2 separate regions of the Homo sapiens genome follow, and region 2 is linked to region 1. The links are contacts of gene promoters, found by promoter capture Hi-C in human tissues and cell types (Jung and others, 2019). All regions are on one chromosome and are shown on one strand. The core of a region is centred on a gene start or on the middle of the fragment in contact, and the rest is flanking DNA. Distances in the headings are between cores, read along the strand shown. Region 1 holds the start of VASH2 (vasohibin 2). Region 2 has its middle 6.7 kb from the start of RPS6KC1.

What was found. The method cuts DNA at HindIII sites, captures the fragments that hold promoters and counts their contacts. A contact is called where the count stands out against the background at its distance.
Region 2: a fragment that was not itself captured here is called in contact with the fragment with the promoter of VASH2 in region 1 in 2 of the 25 tissues and cell types used here (pancreas and spleen).

What each region holds. Positions count from the first base shown.
Region 1 is chr1:212,948,008-212,953,057 of GRCh38, reverse strand. VASH2 (vasohibin 2) reads right to left here and starts at 2,517. Exons shown (of 8, transcript NM_001301056.2): 1 at 2,318-2,517; 2 at 1,240-1,719. The coding sequence starts at 1,515. RefSeq lists enhancers at 1,812-1,861, 2,382-2,531. The HindIII fragment of the contact is 12,745 bases long and covers 1-5,050 here.
Region 2 is chr1:213,041,837-213,047,180 of GRCh38, reverse strand. No RefSeq gene overlaps it. Among named protein-coding and RNA genes, the nearest start is that of RPS6KC1, 6.7 kb to the left of the region's middle. RefSeq lists a cis regulatory region at 1,016-1,974. The HindIII fragment of the contact is 7,014 bases long and covers 1-4,784 here.

The DNA of each region.
Region 1 (5,050 bases), core at 1,268-3,767:
AAGTCAGAACTGCAAACCAGGAACAAAGGTTGTTCTCATATTCAAGAACTCAGCAAGGGTAATTATGGTTGACACTAAAGCAGGCAAGATTCTAGTTGGGCACAATGAAGATCTCCTTGACCAGCAGAGTAATAGAACACTGTAACTGACTGCAGCAGGAAGTTTAGAGGCTCTGTCACTTCTCCAAGGACACACACAGCTTTCTGGCCTGCAGGCTCAGATGCTCAGCTGTCACCAGGCTGGGGAATCAACCAGATGGCCTTCCGGGTCTCAAGTCTGGCATTCCTAGACCTGCCCAGGAATCTTCTCAGCCGTACCAGCGTCCCCAGGGTCCAGGGGAAACCATCCGCCACGCTATAACCCCGAGGCTCGGCAGCATTTCTCCCCAGTTTGCATTTTGATGTTTCATATAACGTATCTACTCCCACCAGGGTACATCTCCCTCCCTCGGTAAAGATATCCTTAGCCACCAAACCCAAATGGCTCACTGGCTTCTCTCCAAGGCAAAAAGAGAGTTTCACTCCTCATCCTCTTTTTCTATCCAGTGAGACTAATTCATCATGTGTACTGGAAAGTCCCTTTTAAGTCTCAGCCAAAAGTCTTTCTTTTTTCTTGGAGCACAAATAAGCTGGGAAGAGAGAGAGAGAGTTCACCGTTTTGCAAGTTTCAGAGGTGAAAGTCACTGTCACACACACACACACAAAAAAACCAGAAAGAAAAGAAAAAAAACTGGCAAAAAGTCTGGAAATTATTCACACTGAGAAGTCTGACTGGTTGATTTCAAATTCATTCACAGCTTAATAAATCATTTGCTGGGGGAAGAGGGGAGCAGAGGAGGAGCAAGACACTCCAAAGAGAACAAGCAGGGTGGGATCCCTGGGGTCTGTGCATTCTTTGGCATCGCTGGTACCTGGTGGCTCTAGCTTTTGCTGAAGGAGGATGTATGTGGGGGTGAGTAAATAATAGAGTTTGGCTGGAGCTTCAAAGACACCTTGGCACAATCCAATTACACAGTCCCAGGATAGCAAGCCCGCTACCTCTCCCTTCCCCATTTCTTAGGCTTCCAATCTAAATATCTCAATTAGAAAAGGGCTGGCAGGAAGGAATGGGGAGAGGAAGGGAGTTTGTAGCAGGACTAGGAAAATGGAGATTGCCTGTGTTTGCTATGTATAGGCTGAAACGGTCCCATCGCTGCCTACCTACCCCCAGCCCCCCAACTCCGCCCTGGAAGCCACTGACCTTTGCCAAGAAGGCGGCGTTCCTGATGGCGCCCACCATTTCTCCCCCCTTAGGGTGCACCTTGGCCACGTGCATCCACATGCGCTCCCAGGTGTGGCTGTCGATGGGGAAGCCGCTCTTGTTGACGTGGAACAGCACCCCGCCGTCTTTGTCCTCCTCCTCTGAGCCCCCGCTGGTGGCGAGGCTCACGGGCCGCGCGTGGCTGCTCCGGGACCGGGTGCCTTTGGCGCCTTTGGGGTGGGGGCAGCGGTGAGTGTCGGCCGCGGAGCCGGTCATGGTGGGGCCTGGGCGGGGAGCGAGGTACTGGGGGCGCGCGGCGGCGGCAGCGGCGGCGGCGGCGGGGGGCGTGTGCGCGCGGGCGCGGCGAGGGGATCAGCGCCCCGCGGGGGCGGCCTTCTCCATGCCTCTCGCTGCGGCAGGACTCACCAAGGGGGAGCGGCGGCGGGAGCTCCGCGGAGGCTCCCTGCTTACCGGCGGTGCCTGAAATCAGCGGAGACACAGCTGACACCACAGCTAAGTGGACGCACAGCGGAACCGAGTGAGGGGTCCCGGAGTGTCTCCACGACACTCCCCGCTCCCCCCTGCACGCTGACAGCCTCCCTGAGAATCGATGACGGGCTTCCAGCCCTGCGATTACCTAGAAAGGCAGCTCAAAATGTGCCACGAAGCTTCACACACACCTAAACCCGGGGGGTTGGGGATGGAGGGGCACAAGGAGCTTGGGGGATGCGGAGCGCAAGATGTGGGGAGAAGAAAGACAGCTTGTGTAGCATGAAGGAACAGGAGGTTCCCGCAAGGCTCCACACATTCCTGGGTCCTCAGATGTGGCCAAGAGAGGAGGGGAGCCACGAACGTGCTGGCATGTGAGCGCCCAGAGCTGGCGCGAGGGCGCTGCAGCAGCCTTGGCTTGCAAGGCGGCCCGCTTTCTTCCAGGAAGCCCTCCCGGACCCCGGCGGGGATCTAGTGGAAAGAGCTCCATCCGCCCCCTTTTCCCCGAGTTCCAGCGCCTATCACCGGGAGGGACTGGCTGCAGGCGGGCGGCGCGCAGGAAGGGCGCGCGGCAGCTCCAAGATCCTACCTCGGGACGGTTGGCTTCATGGCTGCAGAGCCTCTCCGGGCGGCGGGAGAGCAGGGGCTGCTGCTGCTGCTGCTGGGCCTGGGGCTGGGGCTGGGGCTGCTGGGGCTTGCTGGGGCCGTCGCCTCATTCCATGTCCCATTCTCGAATGTTATTCTGTGACATATAACCAAGTCACCCGGGCAGCCGCCGATGTTCCGAATGCGTCTATTGGCCACCGCAACAAAGAGGGGCGGGTCCCGGGCTCGGGACTCTACAACCCCGGGCTCCGCGACGCTCTGATTGGCTCCAGGGGTTCTCTGGCGGGAGGGGACAGGAGTAGGGGGAGCCTGGCGGCCACGCGAAATCCGATCGCTGTGGTGTCCTGAGAGCCCCGCGGGCTGGAGCGTTTGGCCATGGGACTTAAGATCGAGTTTCCCCAGGGGTCGTGGCACTTCGAGGGTTTGCAACTGTGGAAGCAGAGGAGAAACAAAACCACCCGAGAAGTGACCCCGCGGAAGCAGAGGGTTTGGCATCAGAAGAGCATTCCCTGAGGGACGCTGGACACACTTACCTGCCTCTACCCGGGATGATGAGTTGTTCATCCTCTACCTGGGATGATGAGGGGCTGTTCATACCTATGCGTGAAATTAAATCTTTTTTAAATCCCGCATTTAAAAATTCCTCAAAATTAACAAGTGGGTGCAGCTTTGGATCCTCTGGTATTAGTCATGGTTAATAAAGTCCCTTTAAGCCCAAGTTGAGAGGAGACAATAAAACTCAAGAGGTCAGGCAGGCCCTGACTGTTCTGCCACAGCTGTTGAGTGAGAGGAGGGATGGAGAGATGCTTCCAAACCATGGTGAAGTGGGTGGCTATCCCACACTCACTACTGAAACACCTTCTCTTTCTTTTTCTTTAAGAAAGAGGAGAGCAGGTTGAGGTGGGAAGAGCACCAGACTGCTGACCTGAAGGCTGGCTCCTGGTCCAGGTTTGTCACTTTGCTCAGCTGTGTGACCCTGGACAAGCCACTTCCCTGCTCTGGGCCTTAGCTTCTCTTTCTGAAAGGAGAGCAGACCTCCCGCTCTCCAGGGTCTGTTCTGGCTGTAAGGTTCTGTGATTCCCTGACTTCCTCTCTTGTGACACTGAGGATCCTGGCCATAGCATCCTTTCTCTTTAAACTGCAGGCCAGCAGGCCAGCTCTGAGCAAAGCAGTTATGAGACCTATGCTAAGTGAACCTTGAATTAAGAAGACAGTTGTCAAAGTGCCACTGATGGCGGGTCAGTTTCTGGATGCTTATCCTGACAAGTTGCCTGTCATGGAACTGGAACTTCTCTTCCACAGGAGGGCAGAGACCCCTGAGGGGTAGTTGAGAGCCAGGGCTTGGGTGAGGAGACCTGGATTCTGGACTTAGCCCTGCACTGCTCCCTGAGACAGAGCCCATGCCAAGAACTTTATAGATTCAATAATGAGAATAGGGCAGACGTGGTGCCTCACACCTTTAAACCCAGCACTTTGGGAGAAAGAGGAGGAAGGATTACTTGAGGCCAGGAATTAGAGACTGGACCAACATAGCGAGACCTTGTCTCTACTAAATAAATATTTTGAAATTAGCCAGATGTGGTGGCACACACCTGTAGTCCCAGCTACTCAAAAGGCTGAAGTGGACATGTAGAATGAAACTGGATCCTCGTCTCTCACCTTACACAAAAATCAACTCCAGATGGATCAAAGACTTAAGTCTAAGACCTGAAACCATAAAAATTCTAGAAGATAACATGAGAAAAACACTTCTAGACATTAGCTCAGGCAAAGAAATCATGACTAAGACCTCAAAAGCAAATGTAACAAAAATGAAAATAAATAAATGAGACCTAATTAAACTAAAAAGGGTCTGCACAGCAAAAGAAATAATCAGCGGAGTAAACCGACAATCCACAGAGTGCGAGCAAATATTCACAAACTGTGCATCTGACAAAGGACCAGTATCCAGAATCTACAAGGAACCCAAACAGATCAGCCAGATAAAACCAATCCCATCAAAAAATTGGCAAAGGACATGAATAGACAATTTTCAAAAGAGGATATACAGTCAACAAACATATGAAAAAATGTTCAACATCACTAATTATCAGAGACATACAAATTAAACCACCATAAGATACCATCTTACTCTTGCGAGAATTGTCATAAAAGTCAAAAAATAATAGATTTTGATGTGGATGTGGCAAAAAGGGAACATGCATAAAACTGCTGGTGAGAATGTAAACTAGTACAACCACTATAGAAAACAGCAAGATTCCTTAAGGAACTAGAAGTAGAGCTAAAGCTACCATTCGATGCATCATTCCCATGGCAGGGTATCCACCCAAAGGAAAAGAAGTCATTATATGAAAAAGACACGTGCACATGCATGTTTATAGCAGCACAATTTGCAATTGCAAAAATATGGGACCAACCTAAGCGCCCATTAACTAATGAGTGGATAAAGAAAATGTAGTATATAGGCCGGGCGTGGTGGCTCATGTCTGTAATCCCAGCACTTTGGGAGGCCCAGGCAGGCGGATCGCGAGGTCAGGAGATCCGAGACCATCCTGACTAACATGATGAAACCCCGTCTCTACTAAAAATACACAAAATTAGCCGGGCATGGTGGTGGGCGCCTGTAGTCCCAGCCACTCGGGAGGCTGAGGCAGGAGAATGGCGTGAACCTGGGAGGCGGAGCTTGCAGTGAGCTGAGATGGCGCCACTGCACTCC
Region 2 (5,344 bases), core at 28-2,527, 95 kb before region 1:
CCTGGCCAACATGGTAAAACCTCGTCTCTACTAAATAGTCAAAAAATTAGCCGGGTGTGGTGGTGGGCACTTGTAGTCCCAGCTATTCGGGAGACTGAGGCAGGAGAATTGCTTGAACCTGGGAGGCGGAGGTTGCAGTGAATTGAGATCACGCCACTGCACTCCAGCCTGGGCGACAGAGCGAGACTCTGTCTCAAAAAAGAAAAAAAAAAGAAAGAAAGAAAATAGGCTGAATCTCTAAGAACAGCAAACTTTCTGGCATTTTAACTAACCCTAGGCCCATCCCCTGCTCCTCAACTCAGGGATATCCTTGAAAATAACAGCCAACATTCCTACAACTAGTTCTGAGGGAGAAGAGACCTCATTTTTATAGAATAGTAATTATTACTATAAATAAATAAATATCTGGTCTTATTTGTCTGGTGGCTTTCAGAAGACCAACTCAAAAGGCTTATCTTCACCTTGTCCCAACGCTAAAGCCATTAACCAGGGGACATTTTTCCACAAATATTTATAGGTAAATGTGTTTGTCTTTGCTCCCTGAAGTAATGGATAACAGCTGAGCAAACAATCGACTGCCCAAGAAGCTTGAGAGAAAAGGCTGGAGAATGAGAAGCTTTGGAAGAATAAGGGCCTTGAAAAGTTCCAATATATTCTTGAGAATCTAGAAGACCATGCACATGACCAGAGCTACGCAGATGCTCAGGAAAGACTTGAGAAGGCTTTAAGCTTTCACATCTAGCCAAACTTGAAGCTCTGTACAAGCAAGATGAGAAGACTAAGGCAGGGTTGTAAACTGCCTGGCTGAGTGTTGAAGATGTACACCTGCATAAAAACAGGGCCTCTGCAGGGTGCAGTGGCTTACACCTATAATCCCAGCACTTTGAGAGGCTGAGGCAGGTGGATCACTTGAGCCCAGGAGTTCAAGACCAGCCTGGGAAACATAGTGAGGCCCCATCTCTACAAGAAAATGCAAAAAAAAAAAAAAAAAAAAAAAAAAAAAATAGCAGGGCATAGTGGTGTTGGGAAAAGGGCTTGTGGAGTGCCTGTATAAACTGACCATAAAAATATGGACAATAGGTTGTGGAAAGCCACAAAAGGCCTCTGAGGAGGAAAACCTCCTAATTGCCATCAAGTTCCCATGCTCAGAGAGAGACCAGCTGTCTTATCTGTAAACACTGTGTTCAGGGAGAAAGACACTCCTTTAAAACACTGAAATGTAGACAGACATGCAGGCTCCTAGTTAAGCCGCTCCCACTAGCTACTCTCCGATAAGTTAAAGATATGCTGTTTGAGCATAAAGGAGATTCATTTAAACCGCTATTACTATAAATTACGCCTATGACGCACTGCAACCCTTTCACTGTTTCGCCTTGAACATGTGCTTCTTAGATCTAAGTGATTGTACTCAATAAATAGTGTGGAGACCAGAGCTCTGAACTGTTTGCAGCCTCCATTTTGCAACTGGCCCCCTGGCTCCCACCTTTACAAACTCTCAACCTGTCTCTTCTCATTCAGGAAAAGGGCTTGTGGGGTGCCTGTATGAACTGGCCATAAAAATATGGGACATTAAGTTGTGGAAAGCCGCAAGAGGCCTCTGAGGAGGAAAGCCTCCTAATTGCCATCATGTTCCCATGCTCAGAACTAGACCCGCTCTCTTATCTGTAAACACTGTGTTCAGGGAGAAAGACACTCCTTTAAAACACTGAAATGTAGACAGACATGCAGGCTCCTAGTTAAGCCGCTCCCACTAGCTGCTCTCTGATAGTTAAAGATACGCTGTTTGAGCACAAAGGAGATTCATTTAAACCGCTATTACTATAAATTACGCCTATGACGCACTGCAACCCTTTCACTGTTTCGCCCTAAAAATCTGCTTCTTAAATCTAAGTAATTGTACTCAATAAATAGTATAGAGACCAGAGCTCTAAACCTTTTGCAGCCTCCATTTTGCAACTGGCCCCCTGGCTCCCACCTTTATAAACTCTTAAGCTGTCTCTTCTCATTCCTTTGTCACCACCGGACTTCGAGTACCCTACAGGTGGTGTTGAGGCTGGTCCCCAACATAGTGGCGTACACCTGTAGTCCCAGCTACTCAGGAGGCTGAAACAAGAGAATTGCTGGAGCCTGGGAGGCACAGGTTGTGGTAAGTTAAGATCATGCCACTGCATGCCAACCTGGATGATATAGCAAGACGGTGTCTCAAAATAAATAAGTAAATAAAAATAAAATAAGGCCAGGCGCGGTGGCTCGTGCCTATAATCCCAGCACTTTGGAGGCTAAGGTAGGTGGATCCCTTGAGCCCAGGAGTCTGAGACTAGCCTGGGCAATATAGTGAGACCCTGTCACCGTAAAAAATAGAAATAAAATAAAATAAAAACAGGGCCTCTCTGCAAAGACTGGGAGCTGTTTTTTTGGTTCCAGCACCTAAGGAAATCACTGTCCAATCATTTGCTGTCCAATCTCTGCCTAATTAATAAGCTAACGGAACAGAGACTTTAGTGGTCACACACAACAAATAACAGATTTAACAGAATTAGTTCAGAAAACTAAATAAACAACTACTACAATAAGCACTAACAATGAACTCTAGGAAGGAGAGATAATCTGACTTTCAGAGTTGTCATATTAGAATATTTAAAATAATTAATTTTTCAACAAAAATTTATGAAGCATTATAAAAAACAAAAAGTGTGACCCATACACAGATAAAAAAGCAATCAATTAAAAACTATGTCCATGAGGAAGCTCAGATGTTGGTCTTACTAGACATAAATTTTAAATTGGCTACTTTAAATACATCCAAAAAGCTAAAGAAAACCACGTCTAAAGGAACGAAAGACAAAGCCAAAACCGACTCAAGAAGACAAAAATGTCAGAATAGACCAGTAAAGACATTAAGTCTGTATCAAAAAAATGTCAACAAACAAAAAGCCTGGGATTAGAAGCTTTTTCCAATGAATTCAGTGAAACTGAGTGTTAAAGAAGAATTAACGTCAATCTTTCTCAAACTCTGTCAAATAAAAGAAGAAAAGAGAATACTTTCCAACTCATTTTATGAGGCCAGTATTACCCAGGTACCACAGCCAAATAATCACAAGAAAAAAAATTTCCTTGTGAATATCCTCAACTGAAAACTCACAGACCAAATCTAGCAGCACAGTAAAAGGATTACATGACATGAACATGTGGGATTTATCTCCAAAATGCAAAGTTGGTTCAATATATGAAAGTAAATCAATGTAATACACCATATTGATAGTATAAAGGGAAAAAATACAGGATCATCTCAATAGATGCAGAAAAGACATTTGACAAAATCCAACATCCTTTCATGTTAAGAATACACAACCAACTAGGAATAGAAGGGGAACTTCCTCAAACTGAAAAAGGGCACTGATGAAAAACCCACAGCTAACATCATTCTCAATGGTGAAAAACTGAAAGCTTTCCCCCTAAGCAGGAGCAAGACAAGGATGTCCGCTCCTCCACATCCATTCAATATTGTATTGGTAGTTCTGGCGGAGGCAATTAGACAAGAAAAAGAAATAAAAGTCATCCAGGTTGGAAAGGTAGAGGTGAAACAATCTTTATTGTCAGATGATACGATTTTTTTTTAATTGAGACAGGGCCTCATTCTGTCACCCAGGCTGGAGTGCAGTGGCGCAATCTTGACTCATTACAGCCTCGACATCCCGGGCTCAAGTAATCCTCTCACCTCAGCCTCCAAAGTAGCTAAGATTACAGGTGTGCACCACCATGCCCCCCTAATTTTTGTATTTTTTGTGTAGATGGAGTCTCACCATGTTGCCCAGGCTAGTCTTGAACTCCTGGACTCAAGCAATCTGCCTGCCTTTGCCTCTCAAAGTGCTGGAACTACAGGTATGAGCCACAGCATCCAGCCAAAGTTGTTTGTTTTTAGGTTTTGTTGTTGTTGTTGTTTTTTAAAATCATGGCTCACTGCAGTCTCAACCCACCTCCTCACCTCCCCACCTCCCCCAACCCTCTCCCTCTGCTTCATGTGATCCTCCCACCTCGGCCTCCCCAGTAGCTGGGTCTACAGGTATGCACCACCATGCCCGACTAATTTTCGTATTTTTTGTAGAGATGTAGTTTTGCCATGTTGCCCAGGGAGGTCTCAAACTCCTGGGCTCAAGTGATCCACCTGCCTCAACTTCCCAAAGTGCTGGGATTACAAGTGTGAACCACCAAACCCAGCCAACATGATCTTATATATAGAAAACTCTAAAGAATCTACACACACTCTCAAAAAGCTTTTAGAGCCAAAGAATAAGTTTAGCAAAGTTGAAAGATACAAGGCCCTTATATAAAAATTAATTGTATTTCTATACACTAACAATGAACAATCCAAAACTGAAATTAAGAAAATAATTCTACTTACAACACTGTCAAAAATAATAAAGTATTTGGAAATAAATTTATTTATTTATTTTATTTATTTTTGAGACAGAGTCTTGCTCTGTCATCCAGGCTGGAGTGCAGTGGTACAATCTGAGCTCACTGCAATCTCTTCCTCCTAGGTTCAAGCGATTCTCCTGCCTCAGCTTCCCAAGTAGCTGGGACTACAGGCGTGCACCACCACACCTGGCTAATGGGAATAAATTTAACAAAGGAAATGTAATGCTCGTACACCTAAAACAATAAAATATTGAGAGAAAGTCATTAAGATGGCAATACTCCCCAAATTGAATACAAATTCAGTGCAATCCCTATTAAAATTTCAACTTTTTTTTTTAACAGAAAGGAACAAGTTGATCTTAAAATTCATATGGAAATGCAAAGGACTCTGAATAGCAAAACAATGTTAATAAAGATTGGAGAATTCACATGTCCTGATTTCAAAACTCACTACAAATCTACAGTAATCAAGGCAGTGTGATACTGGTATAAAGGTAACTGTATAGATAATGGCATAGAGTTGTGAGTTCAGACATATATCCATATGTTTACAGTCAAGCGATTTTCAACAAAAAGCAATCAATAGGAAGGAGAGATGGGGAGAGCAGAGAAATAGTCTTCAACAAATGGTGCTGGGAAAACTAGATATTCACATGTAAAATAATGAATTTAGACCCCTCCTAACACCACATACTAAAATTAACTCAAAATAGACTAAAGATGGAAATGTAAGAGGTAAAAGCATAAAGCTCTTAGAAGGAAACATAAGTGTGTATCTTCATGGCCTTGTAACAGGAAATGGTTTGCTATGACACCAAAAAGCACAAGCAGGCAAAGTAAAAATAGATAAGATGGAATTCATCAAAATTAAAAGCTTTTGTGTGTCAAAGAACACTATCAAAGTGAAAAGAGAATCTACAGAATG